Regions from separate parts of the Homo sapiens genome. Here regions 2 and 3 are each linked to region 1. Evidence: promoter capture Hi-C in human tissues and cell types (Jung and others, 2019). All regions are on one chromosome and are shown on one strand. Each heading gives the region's core, a stretch centred on a gene start or on the middle of the fragment in contact. The rest is flanking DNA. Distances are from core to core; before and after follow the strand shown.

Region 1 (2,991 bases), core at 134-2,633:
CAGACACTTCCTATGGCACAGTGAAAGCAGAAAATATAATAATGATGGAAACCGCTCAGACTTCTCTCTAAATGTGGAGATACACAGGAGCTTCTATCTTGCTGAAATATTGCTTCATATTTATAGCCTGTGGTAGTGCACATGGTTAACATAAAAGATAACACTGGTTCACATCATACATGTAACAATTCTGATCTTTTTAAGGTTCACTGGTGTATTAACCAAACGTTGTCACAAATTACAAATCAATGCTGTAATATAATTTGCACCTGGAATGGCTAACGTGAAGCCTGAATTAAATGTGGTTTTTAGTTTTTACCATCACCAATTTCTATGACTGTTGCAAATACAGAATCTATTAGAAAACAGGGTCTTGGAAATGTAGAATTTTGGCGCACTATGAGGAAAAACAAGCTATCTTTGTAAAGCATAATTGAGTTTAATGTAATTGTTGTAAAAAAAAAAGTGTGCTTGCTCTACTTAAAATTCCTCACAATGTTGAATTTTGACCTGTATTCAGAAGAATTCCAAAACAGGTCAGTTAAATAAGGAAATATAGTATTTGTCAAACCAGTATCAGAGAAAAGTTACATTAATGTATTTGATTACTTGATCTGGTATCTACTTATTAATGAATAATCAACATTTTTCTAGTGGACAAGCCATGTTCTTTTCGACTGGTCTTCTGCATTTATGTAAACACACCCCAAATCAATTTATCTTTTGTAGGAATGATTTGGTTGGGAAATTTTTCAGAACCGCTCTGGAGCAGAACAAAACGGTACCTCCCGGTCACCACTGGGACTGGGGGAAGGGACACGCTCCAGGGGAGAAAACAATTCGCCTAGATGAAGATCCCTGGGTGGTTCTCCATGCACTCGCCGAGGGGGCTCAGTGGGTAGCCTCTTAGAGCAGCTCTGAGAATAAACTTATCATCTGAGTTAACGGGTAATAGACCCAGAACAGTTCCCAAACCTTGGCACTTTCGCTCACTTAGCCAGAGGCACCCGGCCTGGCCTCGGCTTCCCGGTGAGGGAGCGGGGGTGGGGGGGATGCGCAGGCACCTGGAACAATCAGGGCACCGGGAGAAGCCGGCTCAGCTGATGCCGGTGATGAGTTTCTCTCATTGAAATCCTCCTCACCTCGGGCGCCTTGGTTCCCTTACGGATCAGCCCTTTCATCACAAAGAAAGCCCTCTTTCCAGATCATCTAAGGGTCATTGTGCCAACATCCGGGCGTGGAGAGTTTCTGTAGGGAGAAGGACGAAGAGGGGCCCCCTCGGCGGGGACGCGGGCCGGTGGCAGGAAGGGCGTGGAGGGCGGTGCAGCGTGCGAGCCCCCGCCGAGGGCCATCCCCGCCTCCGCTCGGCCGCCCGGGCAAGTCGCCTATTTAGGGTGCGGCGGCGGGCGGGAGCAGTGCGCCCATGGCGGCCCTGGGGGACGAGGTGCTGGACGGTTACGTGTTCCCGGCGTGCCCCCCCTGCTCGTACCGGTACCCATACCCCGCGGCCACCAAGGGCAAGGGCGCGGCGGGCGGCAGCTGGCAGCAGCGCGGCAGGGGCTGCCTTCCCGCCTCCTCCCCCTGCTCGGCGGGCGCGGCCTCGTTGTCCTTCCCGGGCTGCGGGCGGCTGACGGCCGCCGAGTACTTCGACAGCTACCAGCGGGAGCGGCTCATGGCTCTCCTGGCGCAGGTGGGGCCGGGTCTCGGGCCGCGCGCCCGCAGGGCCGGCAGCTGCGACGTGGCGGTGCAGGTGAGCCCGCGCATCGACGCCGCGGTACAGTGCTCGCTGGGGAGGCGCACGCTGCAGCGCCGGGCCCGCGACCCCGAGTCCCCGGCCGGCCCCGGGGCCGAGGGCACCACGGGTGGCGGCTCTTTCTCCCAGCAGCCATCCCGTCGAGGCCTGGAGCAGGGCAGCCCCCAGAACGGCGCCCCGCGGCCCATGCGCTTCCCGCGCACCGTCGCCGTGTACTCGCCCCTGGCCTTGCGCCGTCTCACCGCCTTCCTGGAGGGGCCCGGGCCCGCGGCGGGCGAGCAGAGGTCCGGGGCGTCGGACGGAGAGAGGGGGCCGCCGCCCGCGCGGCTTCAAGGCCCAGAGGAGGGGGAGGTGTGGACGAAGAAGGCGCCCCGGCGGCCGCAGTCCGACGACGACGGCGAGGCCCAGGCCGCAGTCCGAGCGAGCTGGGAGCAGCCGGCCGACGGTCCCGAGCTGCCGCCGCGAGAGGCCCAGGAGGGCGAGGCGGCTCCGCGGTCGGCGCTAAGGAGCCCGGGGCAACCTCCGTCGGCGGGGAGGGCCCGAGACGGCGGCGACGGACGGGAGGCGGCCGTCGCGGGAGAGGGGCCGTCGCCACGGAGCCCGGAGCTGGGCAAGGAGCGGCTGCGCTTCCAGGTAAAGCCTAGGGCGGTCAGGGCACAGGGGAGCCCGGGGGTGCGGGTGTCTTCCTTGGGCCTGGCCCTGTGACTGCTTCGGGCACTCGGAGGTGCGGCGCTTCCCTAAGCGTGGGCTACTTCCGTATTTCCGAGACAGCCAATGACCGCGATAGGTGTCTTCCTTGACAGCACAGTCTCATGTCCCCGACATCCAGACTTACTCGTGGCGGCTGCTCCACGGGCTGGCCAGGGCGACGCCCTTGGGACGTTCTTATAACCCACATATTTGCACTGTAAACCTCGCGCAGTGGGCGCATAGGCCAGCCCTGACCGCACGGTTGGATTACCTATCAGTAGGCACAACTGAACTTCGGAGCACTTGCCGGCTGGAGAGTCGATTCCCAAGGATCCCTCTCTCCCATTTCCGCACTGGATGTGGCAAAAACCCTTCAACTGCTGGGATTCTGGTCAGCAATTCTGATTTCTCCTTTACGAGCTTCCAGGCTATTGGAAAGCTGGAGCTCCTAAAATGCCCCTTCCTAGGAATTTGCTTTGCTTTTAAGAAGCACCCCCAACTCAGAAATCCAATACTGCGAAAGCATTTGGACTGCTCAGTGTTGCTGC
Region 2 (2,991 bases), core at 211-2,710, 360 kb after region 1:
TGATAAAACCCCATCTCTACTAAAAATACAAAAAAATTAGCCGGGCGTGGTCGTGCGTGCCTGTAGTCCCAGCTACTCAGGAGACTGAGGCAGGAGAATCGCTTGAACCCAGGTGGCGGAGGCTGCAGTGAGCTGAGATGGCGCCACTGCACTCTAGCCTGGGCAACAGAGCGAGACTCTGTCTCAAAAAAAAGGTAAAAATTGAGAGAGACTTTAAGAAAAGAATTTGGAATCCACCAAGACATTTTGCATTTAATCAAAATCCCTGACATTTTGTACAGTGGTCCTTTTGTGTCTGTGTGGATTGGTTCCAGGACCCTCCAGAGGATACCAAAATCCACAAAAGCTTAAGTCTCTGATATAAAACGGCCTAGTAAAGTTTACGTGCATATCTGCCTGTATACTGTAAATCATCTCTAGATTACTTATAATACCTAAGACTATGTAAACACTATGTAAATAGTTGTTATACTGTATTGTTTAGGGAATAATGACAAGAAACAAGTCTGTACATGTTTAGTATAGATGCAGTTTTTTTTTTCCTAAATATTTTCTATCCGCAGTTGGTTGCAGAACATGTACATATGGAGGGCTGCCTGTATCCCCTTTCATCCACAGTGTGTCATACTCCACGTGGTCTTAGATGTTCCTTCTGTTTCTTCCTGATCTGCCAAAACCATTTAAACATGCTCAGGTCTCCTCTAACTTGAGAACATTAAAAAGAAAAAAAAATCCTCCCTCATTTGTTTTTCCAGCTACTCCCAACTGCCTCATATTTGAAGCCAGAGGCAGACTTCATGAATGAGCCCTTCACTTTTTACTTCGTTTAACCCATTGCAGTCAGTGTGAGACTATCCATATGTTCTACCATTTATTGGAACTTTTCAAAAGTTCAAAAACAAACTTTTCAAAAACAACCTGTTTGTTGCTTAAATATAATGGACAGTTTTTGTTCTTGACCAACGTTACATAACTTTAACCAGTTTTTCTTGAAATAGTCTATTCTCTTGGCTTCCATGATGGCATATTCCTAAGATTTTTCTCCTACCTCAGGCGATTCCTCTGTTTCATGTTTTTTGAGTGTCTGATATGTACTATACATTGTTATATAGCACTAAACAACAAAAATTCATTAACTCTTGGTGCTTACATTCTTGTATGGGTTTTTTTGTCTAGTTGTTTGGGAAATGTTGGTGTTACTATATTTTGGATATAATATATAATATGTATGGCCCTTCTATAGGCTCCTCAAACAGAACTCAACCATTTTCCACAAAACCAATTCCTCCTTTCCCTTCATGACTGAGTGGTGTTAGTACTATCCAGGAAACTGGGACATTATCCTTCACATCTATCCCTTATCTGCCTTGTCCAATTAATGTCTTTTAGCTCTTAAATGTCTTTATTAACTATCTACCTCCATCTGTACTGCCAGCATAATTAATGCAACCATATGTCACAAAGAGTATTGCGTTAACCTTCAACAAATCTGTTTGTTTCCATTCTTGCTACTTCTCCTTAGGAAAATAAGCTATTTCTAGCACCTGACAGAGGACATACATAGTGCACATAGTACTCAAATATTTGAGGGGATGAATAGCAACCATGACACTATTATCTTTGTCTTAACTCTCTCTCTAGACTGTAAATTCCATGAGAGTAAAGAGTGTGTCCTGTTTCCTGTTAATATCCAGTATGTAGTACCTTTATGTTGTAAGTGGTCTATAACTAGTTGGTGACAGTATGAAGGAACAACTTTTTAATGTAAAAATAGAGATGTTCTTACCATCTTCCTTTTTCTATTGTCATCCCAGTTCTTATAAATGAAGGAACTGAGGCTAAAGGCACAGATTAGTTGTCTGTTTTTGTACTTTAATTACATGAAATCATACACTGAAATATTCTTTTATGTAAGTTCTTTCAACATGGTGAGATTCATCCAGTAGCATGCTGGAACTGGTTTGTACTGGCTCCTGAGAATTGGTTGTTAAATTTTCGGGAACTTTGGCAAGCTGGTTTTTAAAGTGTTGGTAGTTGGCCGGGTACGGTGGCTCATGCCGGTAATCCCAGCACTTTGGGAGGCTGAGGCAGGCGGATCATGAGGTCAGGTGATTGAGACCATCCTGGCCAATATGGTGAAACCCTGTCTCTACTAAAAATACAAAAAATTAACTGGGCATGGTGGTGTGCACCTGTAGTCCCAGCTACTTGGGAGGCTGAGGCAGGAGAATTGCTTGAACCCAGGAGGCGAAGGTTGCAGTGAGCTGAGATGGCGCCACTGCACTCCAGCCTGGGGACAGAGCGAGACTCGTCTCAAAAAAAAAAAAAAAAGAATTGGTAGCTTTACACCATGGAAACTGACAAACATTAAAATTAGAGCTTTTTATAGGGAGTGCTGGTTTACCAGCACATCATTGCACTTAACCACATTGTTGCATGTAGTTGCCCTATAGTTTTCCTCTGTGTGAATACACCAGTTTATCTATCTGAACTGTGCATTGATAATTGGTAGTTTTCAATTTTCACTGTTACAATTAGTTTTGCCAAGAATATGGTGCCTTTTTGATAGACATTTTGCTGGGTCATAGATTTTGTATATATTTATTTAGCTTTAGTAGATATTACCAAACTATTTAGACCAATGTATACTCCTACATTCTCACCAACACTAGCTATTTTTATGTCTTTTATGTTTTAGCCATTGTGGTAAATAAACACTAATATTGATTGCATTGTGGCTTGAATTTGTATTTCCCTGTAACCAATGAAGTTGAAGACCTTTCCATTTGTTTATACTTCATTTCAGCATATCTTTTTCTGTGAAGTATCTGTTTAAGTCTGTTAACCATTTTTCCATTGTATTGTCTTTTTTCCTATTGGTTTTGTGAGACTTCTCTGTATACTTTGGAATTGAGTCTTTTGTCAGATATAGATATGGTGATTATTTTTTCCCCACTCTGTTTAACTGTAGTTTTCAGTGTTAATAGAGTC
Region 3 (2,991 bases), core at 352-2,851, 290 kb after region 1:
CTTTTTAGCCCACACATGCAACTTCCTGGTACTAATACTCCTACTGGCATTTCACAGCAAAGAAGAATTTTAAAAATCTACAAACCTGGAGCTTACAACGTAGAGGTTATTCTTAAGAATGTTCAGTGTTGATGAACACAGCCCCAGTTCTAACCCTGGAGAATTTTACAAGTTGTACTTTCTCATTCAGAGAGACTTTATCTCTCTACCTTAGTTTCTCATTCTAAGCCCAATCCCCACTCTTTAAAAAAAGAATATTTCTCGGCTGGGTGCAGTGGCTCACGCCTGTAATCCCAGCACTTTGGGAGGCCAAGGCAGGTGGATGACTTGAGGCCAGGAGTTCAAGACCAGCCTGGGCAACATGGCGAAACCCCATCTCTGCAAAAAATACAAAAATTAGCTGGTGGGAATGGTCACAGGCCTGTGATCCCAGCTACTGGGGAGGCTGAGGCAGGAGAATCACTTGAACCCGAAAGGCGAAGGTTGCAGTGAGCCAAGATTGCACCACTGTACTCCAGCCTGGGCGACAGAGTCTCACTCTGTCACACACACACACACACACACACACACACACACACACACCCTTCTCCAATGTGCTAATGTAAATAAAGCTTTTTAAATTATTGTATATAGATGTTTGTTAAAGTCTTTTAAATGGTGAAATACCTCCAGGCACCATGGCTCACACCGTGCCAGTAATCTCAGCACTTTGTGAGGCCGAGGCAGGCAGATCACCTCAGGTCAGGAGTTCAAGACCAGCCTGGCCAACATGGTGAAACCTCGTCTTTACTAAAAATACAAAAATTAGCCGGGCGTGGTGGCGCATGCCTGTAATTCCAGCTACTCGGGAGGCTGAGGCAGGAGAATGGCTTGAACTCGGGAGGCGGAGGTTGCAGTGAGCTGAGATCGCACCACTGCACTCCAGCCTGGATGACATAGCAAGACTCCGTGTCAAAAATAAAAAATACAAAAAAAGTGAAATATGTTATGATCACTATTCTCCCTGTTTATATGCAAATGTACCCCTCAAAGAGGTTCCATAGTTTAACCAGTAATTATTTTTCCTCTGAAAAATTATGTTACCATTCCTATTGGAAATTCTTTCCAGTTCACCACACACTTATATAGCGACTATTATGTGTTAAGAATAGTGAGAAAATGGGGGCCAAGTGCAGTGGCTCACACCTGTATTCCCAGCACTGGGAGGCCGAGGCAGGTAAATCACTTGAGCTCAGGAGTTCGAGACCAGGCTGACCAACATGGTGAAACCCCGTCTCTACTAAAAATACAAAATTAGCTGGGCGGGGTGGCGCGTGCCTGTAATCCCAGCTACTCAGGAGGCTGAGGCAGGAGAATCGCTTGAACCTGGAAGGCGGAGGTGCGGTGAGCTGAGATGTTGCCATTGCACTCCAGCCTATGCAACAAGAGTGAAACTCCGTCTAAAAAAAAAAAAGAATAGGGAGAAAATGATGAATATGTATCCATTCTCCAGAGAGTATGTCATGAATCTCCACCTATAAGGGGCACAGTTTTTACCCTTTATTTCCTTCAAAGCTCTTGCGTGGAGACTATGTATTCACCAGAGATTTTTCTATAGTAAAATTTTTAAAAATCCAGAGCATGGTGTGATGGTGCACACCTGTAATCTCAGCTAGTGGGGAGGCTGAGATGGGAAGATTGCTTTGAGCCCAGAAGTTCAAGGCCAGCCTGGGCAACATAGCAAGATCCTGTCTTTTTTTTTTTTTTTTTTCAAAAAAAAAATCCAACTAATGGAAGCTGTCAACCAAAATCATTTCCCCTGTCCCATTAATATTGATGAGAATAAGTTAAAAGAAAATAAGTCACAGTAGTTTGATTTAATGAAAAAATTCCAGGAAATAGTTCCACAGTCTCCTAGGTCTCCCAGAGGAGGTCCAAGTCCTTCACTCTCTAAAGTTAAATGTGTTGCTTTGTAAAATAAGAACTGATATTCATTGAGTATGTCACTGAAAGGTCTGCAATTATCAGTAAAAAATTCAATTGTGTTCAGTATATTTCACCTACTGGGTAGAATGTGGATATTAATACATTTTTAGAAAGCTTTCCAATTATCTCTTGCTTAAAACCCTTTAGAGATTTCTCTAGGCACATTCTGAATATAAACACCGCAGCAAAACGTACAAGTCTCTTTATAATCTGACTATAGGCTTCTTCTCAAATTTCTTCCCTGACCACTCCCTCGTTTGACACTGGAAGTGTCTGCTCTCTCAATATCAACTATCATGTTCTTTCAAGCTTCAATGCCATTCCCTTTGTGTAGAATAGCTTTCCCCTCTTTGCTCATCTGAAGGACACTTCAATCCATCCATCAAACTGATGGCCCAATAGAAGCATTGCCCTCTTTATGCAGTCTTCTCTAGTTGCACTCCCTTCCTTGACTTAATTATTCTTTGTGCTACTTTTCTACTACATATATACTATTTTGTTATAGGTATCACTTTGAATACAGAACTTAAATGTTTCTTTTCCTGTCTCTTGTACTAGTCTGGTTTGTTCTCACAGAGCAAAGCCAGGATTATGTATCATCGCATGGGCATCATTTAGTATGATGACTGGCATAAGTGAGGCTTTCAGTACAGCATGTCAAATTGAGCTGAATGAGCACAGCTGAAACCAAAAAGTTAACCTACAATGTGAAAATCTAATTAACCACAAGACCATTCTAGGAGCATTCTAATTACTTGATATTTTATTGCAAATCTATCTTATCAATTAGTAAAAGATCACTGGTTCTCAGACTTTTTTATTTCATGAACTGGTAAAATTTCCAAGGAATTTTTAGGAACTGACATAAGCTTATCAACTTTTTAATTTTTCCGTGTAAGGTACAAAAATAAATATAAATAAAACTTCTATCTATTCTCATTATTTCATAAAATAAGAATATTTTAAAGCCAGACCAGGTGTGGGGGCTCATGCTTGTAATCCCAACACTTTGGAAGGCCAAGGACA

What was found. The method cuts DNA at HindIII sites, captures the fragments that hold promoters and counts their contacts. A contact is called where the count stands out against the background at its distance.
Region 2: a contact is called between a fragment that was not itself captured here and the fragment with the promoter of ZAR1 in region 1, in 1 of the 25 tissues and cell types used here (stomach).
Region 3: a fragment that was not itself captured here is called in contact with the fragment with the promoter of ZAR1 in region 1 in 1 of the 25 tissues and cell types used here (dorsolateral prefrontal cortex).

Annotation. Positions count from the first base shown.
Region 1 is chr4:48,488,869-48,491,859 of GRCh38, forward strand. ZAR1 (zygote arrest 1) reads left to right here and starts at 1,384. Exons shown (of 4, transcript NM_175619.3): 1 at 1,384-2,386. The coding sequence starts at 1,424. It overlaps SLC10A4 (solute carrier family 10 member 4), which reads left to right. Exons shown (of 3, transcript NM_152679.4): 3 at 1-658. The coding sequence ends at 71. RefSeq lists an enhancer at 518-1,055 and silencers at 1,281-1,530, 1,581-1,660. The HindIII fragment of the contact is 11,917 bases long and covers 1-2,991 here.
Region 2 is chr4:48,844,431-48,847,421 of GRCh38, forward strand. All of the region lies in intron 4 of OCIAD1 (OCIA domain containing 1), which reads left to right. Among named protein-coding and RNA genes, the nearest start is that of OCIAD1-AS1, 14 kb to the right of the region's middle. The HindIII fragment of the contact is 4,889 bases long and covers 1-2,991 here.
Region 3 is chr4:48,782,341-48,785,331 of GRCh38, forward strand. No RefSeq gene overlaps it. Among named protein-coding and RNA genes, the nearest start is that of FRYL, 3.6 kb to the left of the region's middle. The HindIII fragment of the contact is 3,640 bases long and covers 1-2,991 here.